Linked DNA regions of Homo sapiens: regions 1 and 3 are each linked to region 2. The links are contacts of gene promoters, found by promoter capture Hi-C in human tissues and cell types (Jung and others, 2019). All regions are on one chromosome and are shown on one strand. The core of a region is centred on a gene start or on the middle of the fragment in contact, and the rest is flanking DNA. Distances in the headings are between cores, read along the strand shown.

What was found. The method cuts DNA at HindIII sites, captures the fragments that hold promoters and counts their contacts. A contact is called where the count stands out against the background at its distance.
Region 1: a fragment that was not itself captured here is called in contact with the fragment with the promoter of LRRC27 in region 2 in 3 of the 25 tissues and cell types used here (dorsolateral prefrontal cortex, heart right ventricle and hippocampus).
Region 3: a contact is called between a fragment that was not itself captured here and the fragment with the promoter of LRRC27 in region 2, in 1 of the 25 tissues and cell types used here (liver).

The regions. Positions count from the first base shown.
Region 1 is chr10:132,763,682-132,767,492 of GRCh38, forward strand. INPP5A (inositol polyphosphate-5-phosphatase A) reads left to right here. Exons shown (of 16, transcript NM_005539.5): 12 at 2,092-2,165. Among named protein-coding and RNA genes, the nearest start is that of NKX6-2, 21 kb to the right of the region's middle. The HindIII fragment of the contact is 6,162 bases long and covers 1-3,811 here.
Region 2 is chr10:132,330,861-132,334,708 of GRCh38, forward strand. It overlaps LRRC27 (leucine rich repeat containing 27), which reads left to right and starts at 1,333. Exons shown (of 11, transcript NM_030626.3): 1 at 1,333-1,396; 2 at 2,617-2,874. The coding sequence starts at 2,665. It also overlaps a transcript of STK32C not described here. RefSeq lists an enhancer at 616-1,150 and a silencer at 1,035-1,154. The HindIII fragment of the contact is 23,116 bases long and covers 1-3,848 here.
Region 3 is chr10:132,588,732-132,592,533 of GRCh38, forward strand. The region is part of intron 1 of INPP5A (inositol polyphosphate-5-phosphatase A); the gene reads left to right. Among named protein-coding and RNA genes, the nearest start is that of INPP5A, 53 kb to the left of the region's middle. The HindIII fragment of the contact is 5,722 bases long and covers 1-3,802 here.

The sequences.
Region 1 (3,811 bases), core at 247-2,746, 430 kb after region 2:
CCTGCATGCAAACACACACATGCCTGTGTATGCATAAACATGTGCCTGCATGCACACACATGCCTGCATACAAACACACATGCCGTTGCACACATAAACACATGCCTGCATGCAAACACACATGCCTGTACACGCATAAACACATCTGCATGCAAACACACACATGCCTGTGCATGCATAAACGTGCCTGCATGCAAACACATGCCTGTGTACACATAAACACGCATGTGCAGAATTGCTCCAGAGCCCATGCCCCTACTCTGCCTTTGAGGAGGGGCATCCGTCTCCCGAGGCCTCCGCTGCATCCCCACCCCATTTAGGAGCTGACTTGGGGCCCTTCCCAGAGGCTGTGGGTGCTGGAGGGAGGGAGTTGCTCCCTGGAAGGGGAACTGGAGCTGTACCCTCTTAGGAGGCAGGAGGCAGTGGGGCTGTGAACGCCTGTGCTCCAGGCAGGAGGCCTGGGCCGGTGGCTCAGGTAGCAGCCTGGCACAGGGTAATGACTGTGTGCATGAGGCTGCTGATTGCCCATTTCAGGGATAATGGACGAGGTCACAGGAAGAGCTGGGATATGGTGTGGTTTTGAGGGAGCTCTAGCTCAATGCCATGCCCTGCACAGCTGTGGGGCCATGACTAATGAATAGCACCAGAGAGGGTGTGCATGGTGACCGCACAGGAACATGGCCGGGCCAGTCCTGCAGGGTTGAGAGGGTGTGTGTGGTGACACTCAGGAACACGGTCGGGTCAGTCCTGCTGCGGTGGGAGGGTGTGCGTGGTGACACTCAGAAACACGGTCGGGTCAGTCCTGCAGGGGTGGGAGGGTGTGTGTGGTGACACTCAGGAACACGGTCGGGCCAGTCCTGCAGGGGTGGGAGGGTGTGCATGGTGACAGGAACACGGCCGGGCCAGTCCTGCAGGGGTGGGAGGGTGTGCGTGGTTACACTCAGGAACACGGGCCAGTCCTGCAGGGGTGGGAGGGTGTGCGTGGTGACACTCAGAAACACGGCCGGGTCAGTCCTGCTGTGGTGGGAGGGTGTGTGTGGTGACACTCAGGAACACGGTCGGGCCAGTCCTGCTGCGGTGGGAGGGTGTGCGTGGTGACACTCAGAAACACGGTCGGGCCAGTCCTGCAGGGTTGAGAGGGTGTGTGTGGTGACACTCAGAAACACGGCCGGGTCAGTCCTGCTGTGGTGGGAGGGTGTGCGTGGTGACACTCAGGAACACGGTCGGGCCAGTCCTGCAGGGGTGGGAGGGTGTGCGTGGTGACACTCAGGAACACGGTCGGGTCAGTCCTGCTGCGGTGGGAGGGTGTGCGTGGTGACACTCAGGAACACGGCCGGGCCAGTCCTGCAGGGGTGGGAGGGTGTGCGTGGTGACACTCAGAAACACGACCGGGTCAGTCCTGCTGCGGTGGGAGGGTGTGCGTGGTGACACTCAGGAACATGGTCGGGCCAGTCCTGCAGGGGTGGGAGGGTGTGTGTGGTGACCGCTCAGAAACACGGTGGGCCAGTCCTGCAGGTGTGGGAGGTGATGCCCGCCTGGGGCTTGTTTTGGAAGAGTCTCAGGGGGCAAGGCCATTTGCTGCCTCCCGTGCATGTGAGAATGAACATTTTGCCCCCGAACTGCTGCCAGAATCTCACCAGTGTGCACCTTGGGGCCATTTTCCCTGACCTGTTCTCACAAAGCTGACATTGCTCACTCTGCAGGTTACTTGACACTCTGGGCAGGACAGGAGCTGTGTTCCCTCTGCTGGGGGAGCCAGCACTAGGGAGGAGAGGCCGAGAGGGGCTGCTACTGGGGCTGCCACGGCAGTGCCCGAGGCCATGAGTGCTTCTCTGGCGTCACCAACAGAGAAAGCTTTATGGGTGGGCAGAGCACATCTATAACGGGCAGGGCAGGTCCCACTGTCTGCAGCAGAGGCAGGCGAACACCAGAGCCTGCTGGCACCACAGAGCTTTCTGGTGACAGATGTGGCGGCTCTGGGAAGAGCAGATGTCACACCGAGCATTTGAGCGTCCCAGCTGCACACAGACACACGTGCCCCCAGCGAGGAAAACCAATGTGACTTTATTTTCTGCTCTTTCTTTTCTTTAGCTCTTGGAGTTTGACAAGGAGTTGTCTGTCTTTAAGGACAGACTGTATGAACTGGACATCTCGTTCCCTCCCAGGTATGGAACATGCTGTTTGCTGGATGAACCCGGCCGGGAAGGTGGCGTCTCCACCCTCCCAGTCTCTGGTGCATCTGCGTGTCTGTGTGTGCCAGTTTGTGCTGGGCATGAGTGTGTGCATTCTGTGTGCATCCAGAGTGTGTGTACCATACCTGTGTGTACACGTGTGTGTTGTGCATCTGTGTGCACAGGTGCGTCTGTGTGTGAACGTATGCGTCTGTGTGTGTGCACATGTGCACGAGTGTGTGTGCACGAGTGCATCTGTGTGTGCACCTGTGCATCTGTGTGTGCACGTGTGCATCTGTGTGTGCACGTGTGTGTTCTTGTGTGCATAGTGTTTTTGTGTGTGCACATGTATCTGTGTGTCCTGCACTTGTGTGCAAACTGCACCTTCTCCTGCCCTTTTCATGACATGAAAAAAGCAGCTGAGAGTAATAAGTAATTCTGTTATCTTTTTCCAAAAAAGGTTTTTTCCAATATGCAAAATACTTTCTTATCAGACTTGCTCACGAGGGACCTACGGGGACTGTGTGTTATGGATCTTTCTGGCAATATCGGGGCCTCCAAATGCAGTGTGTCTATGTGGGTGTGGATGTGTTTAAGGCATGCGTGTGTGTGCCTGGGTTTGAATGTGCAGATGTTGCGTGGGTGTCCGTGTGTGTGCAGACCTGGTGCAGATGTGCGTGGGGCGTGCGTCACACAGTTGTGGATGTGTGTGCATAAGGTGTGCTCGCGTACATGGTTGCATATGTGAGCATGAGTGAGAGCATGAGTGAGAACATGTGTGACGTGTGTAGGGCTCATGCATGTGGCTGTGCTCCACGGATGTGTGTGCACATGTGTGTGTGTTCACGCGTGGAGATGTGTGCCTGGGTGTGGATGTTTGTGTGCATTTTTATGCAGATTTGCCAGCACAGAGCAGTTCTCACTGTTGGAAGCCGCAGGGGACTTCCACTGGCAGATGTGGACTTTGCCTGTCAGCTGGGAGCAAGATTGGGAGCTGGAGGTGCGGCCTCAGGGAGCCTGGGTGGGAGCTGGAGGATGCGGCCTCAGGGAGCTTGGGTGGGCTTGGGTGGGAGCCGGAGGTGCGGCCTCAGGGAGCTTGGGTGGGAGTTGGAGGATGTGGCCTCGGAGCTTGGGTGGGAGCTGGAGGATGCGGCCTCGGAGCTTGGGTGGGAGCTGGAGGATGCGGCCTTGGAGCTTGGGTGGGAGACAGAGGATGCGGCCTCAGGGAGCTTGGGTGGGAGCTGGAGGATGCGGCCTCGGAGCTTGGGTGGGAGCTGGAGGATGCGGCCTCAGGGAGCTTGGGTGGGAGCCGGAGGATGCGGCTTCAGGGAGCTTGGGTGGGAGCTGGAGGATGCGGCCTCGGAGCTTGGGTGGGAGCTGGAGGATGCGGCCTCAGGGAGCTTGGGTGGGAGCCGGAGGATGCGGCTTCAGGGAGCTTGGGTGGGAGCTGGAGGATGCGGCCTCGGAGCTTGGGTGGGAGCTGGAGGATGTGTCCTCAGCTTGGGGACACAGGCTTTCCTGAAGCCAGAGGCAGTGCTGAGGTCTGAGCCTTGAAAGTGACGGAGCACTTTGGTGTCCAGGGGAAGTTTTTGGACAGGTTGGAGGAGCCTCCAGAAGGCAGTGGTGGCCCAGGCCTCTCG
Region 2 (3,848 bases), core at 83-2,582:
CTCAAAGTGGATAGTCGTTTCTCCACATAATTATGTCGTTTCCTTTAAAAAGTGGAATCAGGCCGGGCACGGTGGCTCATGCCTGTAATCCCAGCACTTTGGGAGGCCGAGGGGGGCGGATCATGAGGTCAGGAGATCGAGACCAGCCTGGCCAACATGATGAAACCCCGTCTCTACTAAAAATACAAAAATTAGCTGGACGTGGTGGCGCGCGCCTGTAGTCCCAGCTACTGGGGAGGCTGAGGCAGGAGAATTGCTTGAACCTGGGAGGCGGAGGTCGCAGTGGGCCGAGATCGCGCTACTGCACTCCAGCCTGGGAGACAAAGCAAGACTCCACCTCAAAAAAAAAAAAAAAAAAAAAAAAGTGAAATCATGGCAGACTCCAGCTAAACTGTCCGGGTTTCCAGAGTGTTTCTGGGTGGGACAGAGGGTGCTACTTTTCATTATCAGTTGGATCCTGGAATGAAGGTGCACGGGACTCCAGGGTTCCACAGGACCACGCGAGCACCTCCCCTCCCGCCCGGTGTCATTTCATCTTCTTCCAAATTCTCAAAACCCTTCCTCAGGACACTCACTGCGTTTCCTCGCCCCCCTCACTCCTCCGTCCAGAGGCAGCCTTACTTCTCCAAAGAGGACGCTCTGAGTCTGCGTTCCCCTGGCAGCAAGTCCTGAGGCAAGATTTGGGGACAAGCAGCTCCTGTGGGAAGTGGCTCCAGGAAGCCCCAGGAGAGACGCGGGGAGTGAGCCCAGCGGGAAGGACAGGCAGCGAGGACCGCTCCAAAGGTGGTGCCTCAGCAGCAATTCTTTTCTGCTCGGCTGTCCTCGAGCAGCCCCGCCCGCCCCGGGCCCTCCGGCTCCCCAGACGGCACTTAGCATCCCGCTCTCTTCCTTCCCCTCTGTGCCAGGCCGGTCGCCCCTCCAGACCCTCGCGGTCTCTACTTGCCCGTCGACCACCACCCCTTCAAGGCCGCGGGCGCGGAAAAACGGATGCTACCGTTGGCCGCGTGCGTGCGCAGGCGCACCACCCCCTGCCACCCCCGCGCAGGCGCACCACAACCCCCCCACCGCAAGCGCAACCCCCCGCCCCAGCGCAGGCGCACCACACCCCGCCCCCTCCCGGGCAGGCGCACCACACCCGACCCCCTGCCGCGCAGGGGCACCCACACCCCGCCCCCGCACGCAGGCACAAACCCCCACAACACGCACACCCCCGCGCGCAGGCGCACCACACCCCTCGCGCAGGCGCATCACAGACACACTCGCGCTCAGCGTGGCGCCTGCGGGATTCCGTACCGGCGTCTCCATGGCGACCGCGTTGGCTGGGTGGCCTCCATTGTCGGGCTGCTGCTCTCAGCGGCGGGGCTCGCCAGCGCTTCAGTGGGCGGGGACGCGGCAGGTGAGACGGGGCGGGTACGGCCAGCTCGCTGAGCCCTCGAGGCGGGCGGCGGCAGGAAGGTGGTGCCTCGGCCCGTCGTGCCCTGTCGCCTAGCTCCAGCCGCGATGCTGACCGCAAAGGCTGCCCTTCTGAGGCCTGGAATGTGAGGCCCAGAGCGTCGGACCCAACTCAGCCTCGCCCGGATGGGGAAATCGAGGCAGGGAGCGGGGGTGGGCGTGCGTGGGGATCCCTTGAAGGCAGCCTCGGAAACCCCACGGAGCCTGCGCTGCCTGGGCCCTGTGTGAGTCCAGGCTGTTGTTTCACTTCTGGTTTTAAGATACTTTCCCTGTTCTGAGGTTTGAAGCCTCCCCTCCTCTGTTTTAAGTTCCGTGATTCGGAGAAAACAAGTGAACTGACCGTGAAAAAGCCCGCGGGCTTCCATGGAATGCAGGCTGCCTGGGGTTGAACCCTGCTGGGTCCCGGTGTCGCCTCTACCCCCCAATTAACTGCGCCCCTGGAACAGTTCCCTAACTGATCTGCGCCTCATATGCCAATCATTGGGCTGTTGAGTGACTTGAATTAGGTGAACTGATGCATTCCAACGTTGATTCTTATTGCCGAATAAATTGTTTGGAAATTGCAAGTGGAAGTGTGCCTCGCTGAATGAGATTTTGGTGAACAATACTTCTGAGTAAAAGTGTTGCTGGACAACGAAAATTCGAGATTAATTTAACAGGTTTTTCCCCGGTGCTTAACTGGGTGTAAGCCAGACTTAGTTCTGGTCACTGGGTCAAAATGGTAAACAAAAGACAGGCTTCCTGGCCTCAAGAAACTAAAAACATAGTTCAAATGGCACAGAACCACACCAGAGGTAAGAAACAGTGCAAATTTCCACCCGCCCCTAGTCATTTCATGGAAGCGTTGCAGTTGATTTACAGGCTTTGAAATGTTCCGATCTGTTTACATCCCTAAAATGATCATTACTATTGTGCGCCTTTGCGTTTTCCAGGAGTTAAATCTTGGAACTCCATTGTACAAAGTGAGAGCAGAGAATTTTAATCTGAACCTCTTTGTATTCCTTTTTTTTTTTTTTACATGTTTAAAAGTCAAATTTTTGCTACTGCTTAGGAAAAATGATAGCTTTTAAAGCAAGTTACATTACAGTAGATCTGCCACACAGCTATTCTGTTTTGCCTCGGTATAATTAGTTGCTTCTACGTTTCCCTTTCCCGTGTCTCCAGGTGACTCCAGACCAAGGAGGATGAGCTGCTGTCCCTGGAAGAGAACGGATGGAGGGAAGCAGCTCCTACGAAGTTCCCTCTGTGGCTGCTGCTGATCTGGAGGAGGGTGCTGGTCAGACTAGGAGCTTGCCTGCCACCCCCTCCAAAGATGTTCACAAGGGTGTTGGAGGCATCATCTTTTCCTCCTCACCGATTTTAGACTTGAGTGAAAGTGGTCTGTGCCGTTTGGAGGAGGTCTTTAGAATCCCCAGCCTTCAAGTAAGTGGGGCTGCTCCTCAGGCTGTGTGCCCACAGGTCCCCTATAGACAGAAATGGGAATGTACCCCTGGGCTTTATTTGTAGGCTTCTTTCTCTTTGGAATTGATGAATTCTAAAATTAAATAGAGGAAAGGTTAACTCATAGTTTCATACGCCAATCACAACAAAATGGGAAATTCATGATGGGGACCAACCAATGGAAATAGTACATCTATTTAGATGAAGGTGTCTGTTCTCTTCCTTGCAGTTCATCTCTCAAAACCTGTGGTAGAAACTACTGCCAAACACGCTTGGTCTCTTAATTAAAACACAAAACCTTAAAGAAAATCAGGCAACATGAGCAGTTAAAAACTTTGTTCTCACCCATGATTTTGCTCATGTTACACACTGGTTTTACTTTGTGCCCGGCCCTTCTCCGGGTCAGTCCGCAGTAGATGCTGTCTTGTCCATGTGATTTCTAGAGAAAGCTTCTGTGAGGGCACAGGTTTGATGTTAGACAGTTGAGGGTTCCCCCTGCAGCACTTGTCCCTGCTGGGACTCACAGAATTTCCTTAAACCTCATTTGGTTTAATCTGGAATGTCGGAATGATCATGTTTTCACATCATTTATTGTGAAAATGAATAATGTGAAAGTTCAGTGTCTGGAACATAGTTATGATATTGATTGACTTTCTTTTTGTATTTTTAGTAGAGATGGGGTTTCACCATGTTGCCCAGGCTGATCTTGAATGCCTGAGATCAGGTGATCTGCCTGTCTCAGCTTCCCAAAGTGCTGGAATTACAGGTGTAAGCCACCGCACCTGGCCAGATTGACATTTTTGAGTGCTTCTACAAGAGCTACATATTTAGATTTTTAGTGGCTGCTTAAGTTATAAACTCTACATTTGCATTGTCTTTGCTGTCACGGCAGCGCTGGTCTTGCTCTTTCTTTCCTTCATGCTGACATCTAGGGTGAGGCACTGGTCACAGGGACC
Region 3 (3,802 bases), core at 1,071-3,570, 260 kb after region 2:
ATGAGTTGACGTTCTGGTGTGTGTCACCATCGGTGGTTGCCGTTTCTTGGAGTGTGGGTTGTGGTCCCGCTTTCTGGTGTATGTCGCCATCAGTGGTCACTGTTTCTTGGAGTGTGGGGTGTGGTCCCGCGTTCTGTGTGTGTTGTCATGGTGGTCACTGTTTCTTGGAGTGTGAGATGTGGTCCCACGTTCTGGTGTGTGTCGCCATCGCTGGTCACTGTTTCTTGGAGTGTGGGTTGTGGTCCCACGTTCTGGTGTGTGTCGCCATCGGTGGTCACTGTTTCTTGGAGTGTGGTGTGTGGTCCCACGTTCTGGTGTGTGTCGCCATCAGTGGTCACTGTTTCTTGGAGTGTGGGGTGTGGTCCAGGGTGTGGGGGCTGCTGCCCAGGCCTCCCGGCTTTTGTGGATTGGAATCCACATCTGCGCCACGTGCAGGGTTCCTGCCCAGTCTCTGAAGCCCACTAGTCCTTCTGACCAGGCGTTCACTCTGCCTGCCTGCTGAGGGAGCGCTGGGGTCGTTTGACAGGCGGCACCCACACCCTGCAGGGCCACGTGCGCATGCGGGCTCGAGGAAGCTGTGGGAGTGCCTTCCCACTAGGCTTGCTGTGCGGGTTCTTGAGGCAAAGGGAAGGTGGAGTTTGCAGAAGGTCCTGGATGGTGGGTCAGAATGTGGGCACCTGGTTCCAAACCCTGAGGGTCCCTTTGCCAGGGCCTCCGGTAGGGGCCGCGGTCCAAGCCGAGGCACTCGCCCCTCCTGTCCTTCCTCAGGCCCCACTGGCCACAGCCTCCACTGCTTCCAGCATTTTCTTCCTGTTGGGACGGAGTCCTGCCTTGGGAAGCCTTCTGCCTGTAGAGGTTTCTTGCCGGTGTGCACTGCACAGCTTGTGGGTCTTGTGTGTCCCAGAACCCCGAGTGCTCCCTGCCAGCCAGGGCCCAGGCAGTGCTTGGTGAGTGGGAGAGGGATGGCCCTGCTGCCCTGTCCTCCCAAACGGTGTTGTCTCATGGCCTTCAGAGAGCAGACAGACCAGAGGTGGCCTCGGACTCCAAGAGACGCTCCTGGCTTTCCACTCTCGCCCTGTGCAGACCAGCAGTGCGAGGGGTGTTGTGGGGTTAGGGGGTGACGCAGGTTATCCCATGCCAGGGAGCCCACAGCCTCCACCCAGGGCCACGCCTGGCGCCAGCACAGGGAGGTCACAGAGGAGGCTGGAGCAGGGCGTGGTGGGAGGGCACCGATGTGCAATGCCATGCCAGGCCTCGGGGAGCCCCTCGACGAGACCCATGGCTCCTGCACGGATGGTTTCACATTGTCAACACGGCTGGAAAAGGACACGGTCTACAAGTGGAGGCTCGAAGGTGGCTGAGAGTTATGGCACCTGGGCTTTCCAGAAGTTGGCTTGAAATAATTGGTCAAGGTATGTGGCTGGCGAGGGACGCCAGGGATGCGGCCTCCTGCAGTGGTCAGATGCCGTCCTGTGGGATGGGGCCTCCTGCAGTGGTCAGATGCCGTCCTGTGGGGAGGGACAGTGTGGCCTTCATCCGTGGTGACGCCGTCCTGTGTGGGGACTGACAGTATCGTCTCCGTCTGTGATGATGCCGTTCTGTGTGGGGAGGGACAGTGCGGCCTCCATGATGTCCCCCACACTGTCCGCGCTAGGAGTGCAGGTGGTTTCCAGCAGCTGTCTGCCGGCAGGGAGGCTGGGAAGTCAGGCTGGCTGTGTCCAACACCTCCTGGGGCACAGAGGAGTGTGGGGGAGACACTGTTGGAACACAGGTGTGGACATTGCGACACGTGTAAAGATGTCAGTGGGGCCTGCGTTCGAGGATGTTCCGACCACCATGCTGGTCGCACCCTCCAGCGATGGGTCCTCGGTGCAGTGATCTCAAGCGTCGCGTCTAGAATCACCGCACCCCGTTGCTTCCAGACAGCCTCGGTAGCGTTGAGTCCCCTCTTCCTCTTCCTGGATGTACACAGGGGCCACGTGCCGTCTTTGGAGGTCGTGAGTGTTTGAGTCTTTTCATCTCGGCCCCTGCTTTGCTCTTTCTGGCATTGCCATCTGAAAGAGTCTAGCCCACTTGTCTTTAGGGCAGCCTGCCGTGTGGGTCACTGTGGTCATTGCTCGCTCCGTGGTTAGCTGTGTCCTGTCCGTGGTTAGTTAGGTAGTTGGTTGCTCCATGGTTTTCACTTAGAGATTTTGGGCAGGAACATTACCAAGGTGAGCTTGGGCGCTTCTTGTGCCATCAGCTCTGGGGGCCCAGGCTGCTGTCACAGGGAAGGTGGCATCGCCCCACTCCCAGCTTGGCGGGAGGAGGCTCCTCATGTATGACGCCATTTGGGGATCTTCTGTGACTCCTCTATGGGTCCTTTGCCCGTTTTTCCATCAGTTTTGTTTTGTTTTGTATTTTCCCTTGACTTTTAAGAGTTCTTTCAATTGCAAGAAGATTAATTATCTGTGATATATATTGCAAATATTTTCAACCAGTTTGACATTTGTCTTTTGATTTTGCCATGCCAAAGTTTAAAAAAAGTTAGAGTTGACTCACTCTTTTTAAGGATTGTGTTTGGATTTTGAGTCATAGTTTATTTTTCCATATGAACTTTAGAATCACCTTGTCTGGTTTGGGCTGGGCGGGGCGGGCCGCTGGCAGGCTGTGGGACAGGCCAGGGCTATTTCTGCGCTCGCTTGGAGAGGACTGACAGCTCTATGGCGCCGAGTCATGGTCCCTGGAAACAAGAGAGGTCTTTTCATGGACTCAAAGCTTTTGTTCGTTTCCTTCAGGAATGTCTTAAAGTTTTTCTCTTACACAATGTTCACATATGCAAAAGGTCGTTTGTGAGGTTACCTTTTTCCTTGTTGCATTGGAAGCGGGCCTTCTCTTCCAGCAGGCCTTCCGCCTGGTTGTTGTTGGTGTCTGTGATGGCTGTTGTTTTGTCTGTTAATTTCAGGACCTCCTGCTTTCCTGGATTCTCCTGTTGTCTGTCCTTTTTCTGCCTGCTTCTCTGCCCCTCCAGGTGTGCTGTGACGCCATCTGCAGGTGCAGGGAGCTCAGATCTCCTTTCCCGGAGCTGCGCCTCTGCATGTGTTCCCTTTCGGGTCTCATTCCCTCCCCCGATATGTCAGGTGAAATGGCACTGGGCGTAACGGGCGCCCTTGCTGTGTTTCCTTGTCCGAGGGAATGACTGGGTTTGCCCAGGAGGAAAGAGCCGGCTCTGGGATGAGGTGTCAGCGTGTGTGGGGTGGGATGTTTCGAATCCACGTCTCATGTGGTATTCAGCGTGGTATTCAGCGTTGTTGCTATTAAACAAGAAATAATAACAGTGAAAAGACAAAGCGTTTCACTTATAAGGCTAGAGTATAGAACTGTGCCATAAATGAGGGAATTACGGAAGGATTATATAAATCCAAAAATTATTGAATAAAATACAGAAAAAAACCCCAGAAAGACAGCAAATTAAGGAAATGGCAACAGTTTGAAAACATAAATGAAGCACACATTTGGTAAAGCTACCTGAGAGAGGGAGGGGCAGGTTGACTGCATAGTAGTGTGAGGAACAGGAGGATTCATACAGTTTAACAATCCATTGTAAGATAGTTTGTTAACTATTCGGGGAAAGGTTTAAATTGGGGTCTTACTATAGACATTATACCAAAACAAAATCTAAGTGGGGCAAAAATGTTTGTTTGTTTGTTTGTTTGTTTGTTTGAAATGGAGTCTTGCTCTGTGGCCCAGGCTGGAGTGCAGTGGCACGACCTCAGCTCACTGCAGCCTCCGCCTCCCGGGTTCAAGTGATTCTCCTGCCTCA